4 separate regions of the Homo sapiens genome follow, and all the other regions are linked to region 1. The links are contacts of gene promoters, found by promoter capture Hi-C in human tissues and cell types (Jung and others, 2019). All regions are on one chromosome and are shown on one strand. Each heading gives the region's core, a stretch centred on a gene start or on the middle of the fragment in contact. The rest is flanking DNA. Distances are from core to core; before and after follow the strand shown.

Region 1 (2,796 bases), core at 82-2,581:
ATGAAAATGTTCCAATTCTATATTTATTCAATATGTTAGCAACTAGCCACATTTGGGCACCCAAATTTTTAATTTACTTTAAATCCAATTTGTCATATGTGGCTACTGTATGAAACAGCACAGGTCTAAAGCATTTCATGTCCAAAAAGGAATACCTTGAAAAACAATTCACTTCTACTAACAGAAGAAACTAAAACACCATGAACACTTGAAGATTGACTAGTATCACATTCTCTTACCTCCTCATAGCTTGCAGTTCTATCAATCCGGTGAATAATATCAATATTAACATTCCCCAGTCGTTCAGCAAATGTAAGAAACTGGAAGGGAAAGTATATTTAAGATACATAATTAATTAAAATTTATCAGATCTTTAATATCTATTTGAATGCTGCATGTAGGCATCTCTAATCACAAAGGATAAGTGGAAAAATAAACTGAAAAACATACGGCCGTAAACAAATTTACTGCATCACTGTTCAAAGATAATGAATACTTCTATGTTTGCATAATTTCTCTCAGCTATGTCATTTCAAATAAAATTTCCATTGCCAGACTGGTGAGCCTAGGTGGATGCTGGCAATTAGTCTCGCTAGATCTATTAGGTTTCATACCCTCCCATAAGCATGGGGACCTAGCAAAGTCGCTGCAATAAAAGTGTTTTTAAACATATACAGACCTATGATTGTATCCTAAGGAAGACCTGGAAACAATCTATCAAGGGGCAAACAGAGAAAGCGCTGTATATTTGCCCTTAGCTGGGAATCACTCACCGCCAGCCGACTCGCCCAATTCGGTCTTTAAAGATAAAAGAGCAGGGGAGAATTGGTCCTAAGCAATCTCCTGGAATAGTGAATTTAATTCTGGACTACAGGAAATTCCCAGGACTGGCCAGACCCCATAAAACATGGGTGAAACTTGCTGTCCACACTTCTTTCCTCCTCCAACCCATGTTTACTACATCCAGTGTCTCCCTCTTTCGCCGGAGCCTCCAGGAAAGTGACACACTCGGCCCAGAAGTCTGAGGCCCCTGGAGTCTCGCTCAGAGCCTGTCTCACGACTGAGGCAGCGGAGACCCGCGGCTCCCTGCCTAAGCTCCCGCGCTCACCCGGTAGGTGTTCTCGGTCTTGTGGGAAACGGGCTTTGTCTTCATGGCTGCAGAGGGCCAGTGGCCCGCGACGGCCTCGGGAGTGTCGAAGGGATGCAACCGACAGTAAGGAGGGGAAAGCGGCTCACAGGCTATACTCTCCGATTCCCAGATGCCCAGACTTTCTCACGTGCGGCTTGAGCCCCTGGGCGCCGCCATGTTGGAGACAAGGAGGAGCCTGAGTGGGTCACGTGGACGGAAAAAAGAACGGCGCAGGCGCACCCTTTGGTGGGGTGGGGCCTACAGGAGGCGGGGCTGCGCACATAAGGGCGGGCGTTTGGGTGAGGTGTTCTTTTCACTCCCTTCGGTAAAGGTTTAGAAGACAAATGTATTTTCATTATAAAATAAAACATACCTGTAATCGTTATCAACTAACATTACTGTCCCTCACTACGTACCTGCATCGTGCAAAGATCCTTTCATCCATAATTTCACAGTAAAGCTTATTAGGGATGTTAATACAAAGGAGGTACTGCGTCTATCTATATATCTATATATAGATATATACTTTTTTTTTTTTTTTTTTGAGACGGAGTCTCACTCTGTCTCCCAGGCTGGAGGGCAGTGGCGCGATCTCGGCTCACTACAATCTCCGCCTCCCGGGTTCAAGCAGTTCTCCTGCCTCAGCGTCCAAAGTAGCTGGGACTACAGGCACCCGCCGCCACGCCCGGCTAATTCTTTTGTATTTTAGTAGAGACGGGGTTTCACCTTGTTGCCCAGGCTGGTCGCGAACTCCTGAGCTCAGGCAATCCGCCCGCCTCGGTTTTCCAAAGTGCTGGGATTACAGGTGTGAGCCACCGCGCCTGGCCGGTACTGTGTATATTTTTAAGCCAATTTGACACAAGAGGAAACCAAGGTTGTGCAGCTGGTAACTGGCAGTCTTCACTCAGACTCTAAATTTTGGTATTCTTAACCACTACGCTGTAAATAAAATTGAAAAATAGAGAAGGAGTTTTAAGAAAAATCTTTTAATTTCATGCACAACCGCTGTTAATGTTTGGTGTTTTTCCCATCACTTTAATGTCTACACATAGCATGTTGTTAAATTGTACAGTTATATATACATATATGTACAATTTTAAAAAATAATTTAAAAATATAATTATTTACCCCATTTTACATTCATTCATTCATTCAGCAACTATTTCTTGAGAGTCCTCTGTGGACCAGGTACTGTTCTGGGAGCCAAACGAGAAAGGCAATAATAGTATTAATTAATTATTTGAAAATATTCACAGCCTTCAATTCCTGGGCTAAAGTGAGCCTCCCACCTCAGCCTCCCAAGTAGCTAGGGCTACAGGCATGCACCACCACACCCAGCTCTTTTATTATTATTATTATTATTATTATTATTATTATTATTATTTGTAGAGATGGGATCTTGCTATATTGCCCAGGCTGGTATCAAACTTCTGGACTCAAGCAGTCCTCTTGGCTTGGCCTCCCAAAGTGCTGGGATTACAGGGGTGAGCCACCATGCCCAGACTGGAAATACTTGGTCTGAGATGCTTACATTTTAGTCAAGGAGTGATGTTAAGTAGACAATTGGATATATTGTTGTACAGAGCTCACTGTAGCAGTCTGGGCTGCAGACGTGACTTAAATACACCTAAATACCTCAAGTGTGAGGCATTTGCGACTGGGAAAGA
Region 2 (2,796 bases), core at 130-2,629, 120 kb after region 1:
TCTGATAGCTTCAAAAACCTGCCTCCCTCCCCATGCCCCAGGTTTTATATATTGTTCTCAGCAGAATGATTGTTCTAAATCAAGCAGCTATCAAAACTGAAAGTGGAATCCTAGAGCAATCATTGTAGAAATGATCATAGAATGTTCATGTTACTCTTTCACTTAAAACATTGCAATGAGTGCCATTGCCTGTAGAGTAAAATTCCAACTCATGCCTGGTCCCACAAAAAGCCCCCTGCCTATCTTTCATCTTGTAATCACTGTCTTGCTCACTGTGCCTCAGTCAGCTGGTGTTTAGTCTCTGTTTTCCTCAAGAACATTTTGTTTCTCAGATCTCAGTTCAAATGTCATTTATTCCCAAAGGTTTTCTCTGACCACTTGTAGTGTAGTTCCTCCCTCTTCACCCTGTTAATAGCACATCATCTTGTTTTACTTTCCTTACAGCACTTTCTACTAGTGGAAATTATTATATTTATTAATTTGTTTATTGTATTTATCTCTCCATTAGAGTATAAACTATATGTTAGCAGGAATCTTATCTACTTTATTTTTAAAAAATAATTTCAACTTTTATTTTAGATACCTGTGCAGGTTTCTTACTTGGGTAAACTCTTGCCTGTCTCCCTTCACCCTCTGGTAGTCCCCAGTGTCTATTGTTCCCTTCTTTGTGTCCATAAGTAACCAACATTTAGCTCCTACTTATAAGTGAGAACATGTGGTATTTGGTTTTCTGTGCCTGCATTAATTTGCTTGGATAATGGCCTCCAGCTGCATCCATGTTGCTGAAAAGGACATGATTTTGTTCTTTTTTCATGGCTGCATGGTATTCCATGGTGTATATGTACCACATTTTCTTTATCCAGTCCACCATTGATGGGCACCTAGGTTGATTGCATGTCTTTGCTGTTGGGAATAGTGCTGCGATGAACATATAAGTGCACGTGTCTTTTTGGTAGAACAATTTATTTTCCTTTGGATGTATACCCAGTAGTGGGATTGCTGGGTCAAATGGTTTATCTACCTTATTTATGGCTGACTGTCCAATCACAAGAGCAGTGCCTGGGACATCATGCAGAATTGAATGAATAAACATGACCTTCAAGTATTTTAGTATATAGTCAAGGTGAAGTTTTGCTTTCAATTCCTGATCTGATAAGATAAAATTAGGACAGCAGGTTATGACATTAAAAACATTATTAAGTGTTATATTTTGACCTTGCCATGGGAATCACTGGTATATACTGGTAGTTGCTAGTGGCATTACATGAAATCTTACCGTTGTGTTTTTGCTCTCTTAGGACTCCACTGATGGATAACTGGTATTCTTTATCATATCTGTACTTCAGCACTGTTGGAACTTTGGTAACATTATTAGTGGGGATACTTGTCAGTTTATCAACAGGTAACTATCTAAACATTAGTATTGTTGTATTTACCTCTATATCAGTTTTTACTGTATCTGTTTTATAGCTATTTATGTTATTTTACTATGATCCTATTGCCAACTAGTTTAATTATTTCTTCTGTTTTACTCATGGGAAATCTGAAGGCCTAGACTTGAAAGCAGAAGACTCATTTCTATTTGAATCTTGGTTCTGCCCTTTAGGGGCTGCATGAACTTGGGCAAGTCACATAGCTACACTGAGCCTCAGCTTTCTTATGTATAAAATGAGGACAATAATAATCGACCTGCCCATCTCACAAGTTGCTGTAAGACAAAAATAAGATGCTTGAAAAGAACTTCATAACTGCTATGATGTTAGGGATTTTACACATATTTTTATAATAACCCAATATGCTGTGATCTTTACATGGTCCAGTATTCATTCTTTGTGAACTGTAAAGAAGCATACACAGGTTATATCTAAACATAGTGTGGAGGCTTTTTTTTCAGATATTTATCATTTTTTAAAAAGTGTGTTCATTTTTAAAAAATCAAATTGATACACATAGTATATAAATTGCTCTCTGGGATTGCTATAGAACGGTTATCTTGGGACTCCATTTTGTCCTCATTCTATGAATTCTCTTAGCCCCTGTTCCTGTGTTGGGTTTTCTACTGCCTATATTCATTACTTCTCATTCTCATTTACTCCCTTAATTGAATGAAACACATCCTATAGCATATTCTCAAGAAAGAGTAGACAAAAGAAGAGGTTTTGGAAACTTTGTGTGTCTGAAAAAAAATTATTTAATCTATCTTATGCTTGATTGATTGTTTGAGTAGAAATTGCTAGGGTTGAAAAGAACTTTTCTTTTTTCTGAGAGGATGTCTGAATTTTTTTCTAGCTTGCTATGTTGCTGTTGTGACAGCGCTCTGCTACCAGCTGACACTTTGTGTGTGTCCCATTTTCACAATGACTGCCTTGGCCTAGGCCTTCAGTAGGGCCCATTCAATCTGAAGATCCATGCCCTTCAGTTCTGGACATTTTCTTTTTTGTTTTCTTTTCTTCCTTTTTATTTCTATTTTTAATAATTTTCTGTGTTCTCTCTCTGAGAACTCCTATTAGTCAAACATTTGAATCAGAATCATGGACAGTTCCTCTAATTTTCTCGTTTTTTTCTCTCTTATTTTTCCTCTCCGTGTCTTTTAGGTCTACTATGTGAGATATTTTTTCACTTACTTTTCCAATAATTCTCAAAGGAGTGCTCTGATCCAATTTTGAGAATAGTCTGTAGGGGAACGAGGGCAGGGAAGAGGCTATTGCAGTAACCCAGGTGAGAGATCACAGTGCTGGGGCCGGGGTAGTGCGGAGTTGGTGAAACATGCTGGGCTCCCTGACTCCCTACATCCCC
Region 3 (2,796 bases), core at 136-2,635, 92 kb before region 1:
TTACTTAAACTATGATCCCCAAAGCTAAGACTTGTCACTGAACTGTGACTAAAAGCAACGCACACCTTTTTTGCTCCAAACCAAGTGGTAACCATATCAAACAGCCAATCTTTTTTCTCGAGGCTGATTTTACCAAGTAGGGACTTGATTGTCATGGATGCCATCTTTTTGCACGTGGCAGAGTCATCATTGATCGTCATTAGACAAAGAGGGATAAAGAACATTCCGCAGTTCTCATGGAGCAGCCCCTAAAAGAAAAGAGGCACGTGTGAGCACTCAGAGTGGAATTCCTACAGATGCTCTAGCAAAGGGGGACTGAGGACTTCCAGGAGTCACGGGGCTTATCTCTGGGGTCACAGTACCTGAGGGAACGTGTCAAAGAGATAGGCGATCATTTCCAAGGTGGACTCTCTCCCGGTCTCATGTTCGTAACTAGGGGAAGGACATTAGGTGGATTTGTTAGTATCTTCTAAATTTACAAATAATTATTTAAAAAATGAAAATATTGTATCAAGGTGTCAGTTTACTTCTTAAAAAAATGGAAAATGCTCTGTTTTCCTAATTTTAATGCTTGTATGTATCCATTAAGCTATCACTGTACAATTTTAAATGTAAGTGTGTCAGATTTCAACATTCTCCTAAGTGGACTCTTATGACAATCAACGGTTAAATTAGATTGAAAAGCAACTCAGAGAACGGCTATATGAAGCCAAGCACAATGTCTGATTATCAAGTCAATGAGTCATATAACAGTATGCTCAGAGAATGTACCATTATACTTAGGCCCCATCCTTTTTAAGACAGCCGCCATGTTAAAGGGAAAGAAGAAACTACCCTCCGCCCCTGTGTAGTTAATAGCTTAAGCTTACTTCAGTTGAGCGAGCATGAATTCCAAGTTTGGTCTCAATTTGTCACCCAGGGGATAGTCAAGAATATATTTCAGAAAAACCTAGGAACAAAAGTCACACAGATGATTATTTGGATCTCACCTCTAGTATTCCTGTTTCCTAAGCTGCTTTCTGGAACTCACTGGTAGGTTATAAAAACTTTACAGAATGGCAATCAATCAGGCTTTCCAATGCACTCCAGCTAAATCTGCCTATGAAGTCAATAGCAACTGTGACCCTTCATTTCTCCCACCATTCATCTGGTCCTGCCCTATGTGCCTGACAGAGGCAAGCCCTGGCCTGCCACTGGCACTGTGGTTTAAGACTACAAATCTAAGCCCACAGGTTGGAAGCTGATCTCTCTGTGACAGGTGGTGACAGGTGTACCACAGTATGGACTGTGGTCCAATCTGGTATCTCCCCTTCAACAAGAATAACAACACAGTGATAATATCAATACTGATAATAATAACTAATGCATTTACTAAAAACCCTCTATGTGCCAAGCACTGCGTTAAGTGTTTCTCAGTTAAATCTCATCATTCCCTTAAGAAGTTCGTGATAATAGCCCATTTTCTAGTTGAAGGGAATGAAGTTGGCCGAGACAATAAGAAACTTGTTCATGTGACACTGCCAGAATTCCATGCCTAGTCTGTGTCCAAAGGCTGCACTTTCAAACCACTATGGTATCTAGCCTCCTTTATTAATAAACTGTGAGAACTAGGCGACATCATTCAAGTTTCCAAGCCTGCCTTTCCCTCGCGGTAAAATGGGGATACCGTTTCTTCTGAAGGGTACCTGTAAACAGAGGTCATGCATTTAAAGTGCTAGGCACACAGCTAGTGCTTAATAGCAGCTGACCCTTCTTCTTCCTAATAGTGGCCAAGCAATTATTTCCAGAGACATGCATCTTGCCTTCCACCCTGGCCTCCTCAGCAGCCCAAACCCACCTGCAACCCTGAGTTCCTATTTCCAACTTAGACCTTTCCACCTCTTTGGGCACAGTATGTGTTCATAAAATTAGAGATTGACAGATGTATAGATATAAACCTGATCCTGTCACTCCTCTCCCTAAGGATTTAAATAGCTCCTTGCTATTCTTAGAACAAAGCCCCACCAGGCACCATGGCTCACGCCTGTAATCCCAGCACTTTGGGAGGCCAAGGTGGGTGGATCACAAGGTCAAGAGATCAAGACCATCCTGGCCAACATGGTGAAACCTCATCTCTACTAAAAATACAAAAATTAGCTGGGTGTGGTGGTGCATGCCTGTAGTCCCAGCTACTCAGGAGGCTGAGGCAGGAGAATCACTTGAACCTGGGAGGTGGAGGTGGCAGTGAGCCGAGATCGCGCCACTGCACCACTCCAGCCTGGTGACAGAGTGAGACTCCGTCTCAAAAAAAAAAAAAAAAAAAAAAAAAAGAACAAAGCCCCAAATCTTTAACAAGACCACAAGGTCCTGCCCAACCTGGCTCCCCACCCCTCAATTCACTTACCTGTGTTGAGCTCCTCAACCAAGCTAAGCTCTCACTCACCTCAAGCCTCTACTGCCCCCTCACCTTGAAAGCTAAGCCTTTTTCTTCCTTCAAATTTTGGCCTGCCTGTCAGTCCCCAGAAAAAGCCTCCCCTGACCACCTGCACCAGGACGCCCAAGTCTCAGCATAAAGCAACAATACGACACAAGGTGGTCTTCAGAATTCAGCCAGTGTTGACACCTCTGCCACAAAGATGCGGCAGGGCCCAGCCCTTGCTATGGGGATAAGTGCTCTCTACAAACCTGTCTACACTGGACCCTGGCAGGTTCGCTTTGTGCAGAGACTGCCAACTTGGATACTTTCCGCATGACCTCATCGATTTCTGGGACCAACAGCTTTCTTGATAAAATTGCCTAAGATACAAAAGGAAAAGA
Region 4 (2,796 bases), core at 95-2,594, 80 kb after region 1:
TTACCAAGAGGAACTTCATGTGTAAGGTGCTCTTGAACTCTGAATTCTGGGCATGTTCCACATCGGTATTACCAACATCACAAGTGGATCATCTCATTTGTCGAGAACTGAGTTATAAACTTCATGAGTTACCTATTTAGGACTTAAGTGTAATTGAACATATTATGGTTTTAAAATGCAGTTCTGGGAATTACCAGAGGACTGACTTTAATCTGTGAAGAAATCAAGCATTCTGTTCTTATCAGGCTCAAACCACTCCCTGAGAGTAAATTAGAATGAAAGTGAAGGTGTTTTGATGACTAGAGTGTCAGTTGTGTGTTTTACTGTGACCAAAGCTGTAGGTACAGGCATAGACACAGAACTTAGTGTGCAATAGATGCTCAAAAAAGCTTATTTAACTGAATTGAAAATTAACATTCTCTAGGTCTAACCTCTTTTTTTCTTTTTTAAATTTTGGAAATCCTCATACAAATACTAAGAGAGAATAGAGCCCCTTAATGTGCTCATTCATCACTCTATGTTAATATTTATCAACTCATGGTCCATTTTAATTCACTCCCCCTTACCTCTAATAGATTATTTTGCTGCAAATATGTTATGTCATTTCATCTGTATTTCAGTATGTCCTTTAGAAATAAAGACTTTAAAAACCATAATCATACCATCATTGTACCTAAAATATTAATATTAATTTCTTAATTTCATATCAAGTCAGTGTTTACATTTCCCTGATTTTTTTTCAGTGTTTATAAGAATCAGGATCCAAATAAGCTTATGTGATTGCAATCAGTTGATGTCTCTTAAGTTTCCCTTTTCTGCTTTTTAAAATTGAAAACCAGTTTTTCTTTCTTTCTTTTTTCCTGACCACCTGATGCCTGTTGAGAAAACTAGTTTTTATTGAGGTATAGTTAACATACAATAAAATGCACAGAGCATGGGGAAGTGTACAGTTGGATGAGTTTTAGTAGTTGCCTAATAGCTTGTGTGACTACCACCCCGCTCAAGATATAGACTATTTCCGTCATCCACTCTCAGAAATTTTCCTTGCATGTCTTTCTAACAAATCTCCTATGGGCCCAAGAAATCATTTTCTGAGTTATGCTACCATAAACTAGTTTTCCCTGTTGTTAGATTTTATATAAGTGGAATCATATAGAGCCTTTTCATGTCTGGTTTCTTTTGCTCAGCAAAATGTTTTGAGATTCATTCATGCTGCTACATATATATCAGTAGTTCATTCCCTTTTTTTTTTTTTTTTTTTTTTTTTTTTTTTTTTTTTTTTTTTTTGCTGGTAGTACTTCATTTTATGCCTCTACCAACATTTTTTTATCCATTCTCTTGTTATAGACTTGGGTTGTTTCCAGTTTTAGGCTATAGTGAAGTAAGGGTGCCAAGAACATTCTTCTAAAGGTTTTGTGCATTTTGTTTTTCTTTTTCACACCTGTTTTCACTTCCATTGGAAATGAAATACATGGATGTAGTATAAAATTAAAAATATAATTCTATTTGGACCCAGCTGAGGATAGAAATGTGTGCAAATTTACAAGAAATTGCCAAACAGTTTTTCCAAGTGGCTATATCGTTTTCCATGTCCACTACGCAATATGTGAGAATTCTAGTCATTCCACATCCTTGCCAGCATTTGATATTATTCTTTTTTATTTCAGTCATTCTAGTGGGTATTACCTATTATTTTATTGTTGTTTCAGTTTTCACTTTCTATATGACTATTATGGCTTAGCTTATTATTAGACTATTATGGCTTAGCTTATTGGCTTCTGAAATAATAAAGTGAATAAAGACAAATAACCTAATAAAAAGTGAGCCAAAGACTTGAACACTTCACAAAAGCAGATATTCTTCTAATACATTACATGATATATCTATTCATTTACCTAGGCCTTTAAAAATTTCTCTTAGTGCTCACTTTGGCAGCATGTATACTAAAACTGGAACAATACAGAGAATATTAGCATGGCCCTTGCACAAAAATGATATGCAAATTTGTGAAGCATTCCATATTTTTTAAAAAAGGAAGAAAAGAAATAATAAAATAAAAAGTCTCTTAGTAATGTTTTGTAGCTTTGGATGTTGAGGTCTTTTACTATTTCTTAGATTTATTCCTAGATAATTGTTGTTTTTTATGCTATTGCAAATGTCATTGTTTTATTTTTCAATTATTCGTTGCAAGTGTATAAAAATACAACTGACTTTTATATGTTGATATTCCATCCTGAGAACTTGCTGAATTTGCTTTTTAAATCAAGCAGATTTTTGGTGATCCCTTAGGATTTTCATGTTGTTTATGAATAGTGACAATTTTACTTCTTTTCTAATCCTTATAGCTCTTAGTTCTCTTTCCTGTCTTATTGTAATGTTAATGTGAAAAGTTACATTGACTGAATTTTGAATATTAAACCAATTTTTGCATTCTTGGGATAAACCCTGCTTGCTCATAATGTATTATCCTTTTTATATATTACCGAATTCGATTTGCTAACATTTTGATAAGGCTTCATAAATGAATTGAAAAGTGTTCCCTCCTCCATTTTCTGAAATAGTTTATATAAAATTGTGTATTTATTTCTTACATGCTTGGTAGAAATCACCCTGAAGGCATCTGGGCCTACTCTTTGTTTTTGTAGAAAGATTTTGGTTTATGGATTCAGTTTATTTCGTAAATATAGAGTTATTCATATTTTAAAAGTCTTGTTGGGTCAGTTTTGGTAAATTGTATTTTTTAGGGAATGCTTCCATTTGGTCTAACTTATCAAATTCATTAGCATAAAACTGCAT

Evidence for each region. The method cuts DNA at HindIII sites, captures the fragments that hold promoters and counts their contacts. A contact is called where the count stands out against the background at its distance.
Region 2: a fragment that was not itself captured here is called in contact with the fragment with the promoter of UTP20 in region 1 in 2 of the 25 tissues and cell types used here (adrenal gland and mesendoderm cells).
Region 3: a fragment that was not itself captured here is called in contact with the fragment with the promoter of UTP20 in region 1 in 3 of the 25 tissues and cell types used here (H1 embryonic stem cells, mesendoderm cells and thymus).
Region 4: a fragment that was not itself captured here is called in contact with the fragment with the promoter of UTP20 in region 1 in 3 of the 25 tissues and cell types used here (mesenchymal stem cells, mesendoderm cells and thymus).

What each region holds. Positions count from the first base shown.
Region 1 is chr12:101,278,640-101,281,435 of GRCh38, reverse strand. UTP20 (UTP20 small subunit processome component) reads right to left here and starts at 1,331. Exons shown (of 62, transcript NM_014503.3): 1 at 1,109-1,331; 2 at 240-320. The coding sequence starts at 1,153. RefSeq lists enhancers at 1,258-1,307, 1,041-1,632. The HindIII fragment of the contact is 9,089 bases long and covers 1-2,796 here.
Region 2 is chr12:101,160,580-101,163,375 of GRCh38, reverse strand. SLC5A8 (solute carrier family 5 member 8) reads left to right here. Exons shown (of 15, transcript NM_145913.5): 13 at 1,299-1,402. Among named protein-coding and RNA genes, the nearest start is that of SLC5A8, 48 kb to the left of the region's middle. The HindIII fragment of the contact is 7,218 bases long and covers 1-2,796 here.
Region 3 is chr12:101,371,037-101,373,832 of GRCh38, reverse strand. It overlaps UTP20 (UTP20 small subunit processome component), which reads right to left. Exons shown (of 62, transcript NM_014503.3): 51 at 2,665-2,775; 52 at 870-949; 53 at 363-432; 54 at 66-248. Among named protein-coding and RNA genes, the nearest start is that of ARL1, 35 kb to the left of the region's middle. The HindIII fragment of the contact is 7,636 bases long and covers 1-2,796 here.
Region 4 is chr12:101,198,501-101,201,296 of GRCh38, reverse strand. The region is part of intron 3 of SLC5A8 (solute carrier family 5 member 8); the gene reads left to right. It also overlaps the pseudogene RNU6-768P. Among named protein-coding and RNA genes, the nearest start is that of SLC5A8, 10 kb to the left of the region's middle. The HindIII fragment of the contact is 7,035 bases long and covers 1-2,796 here.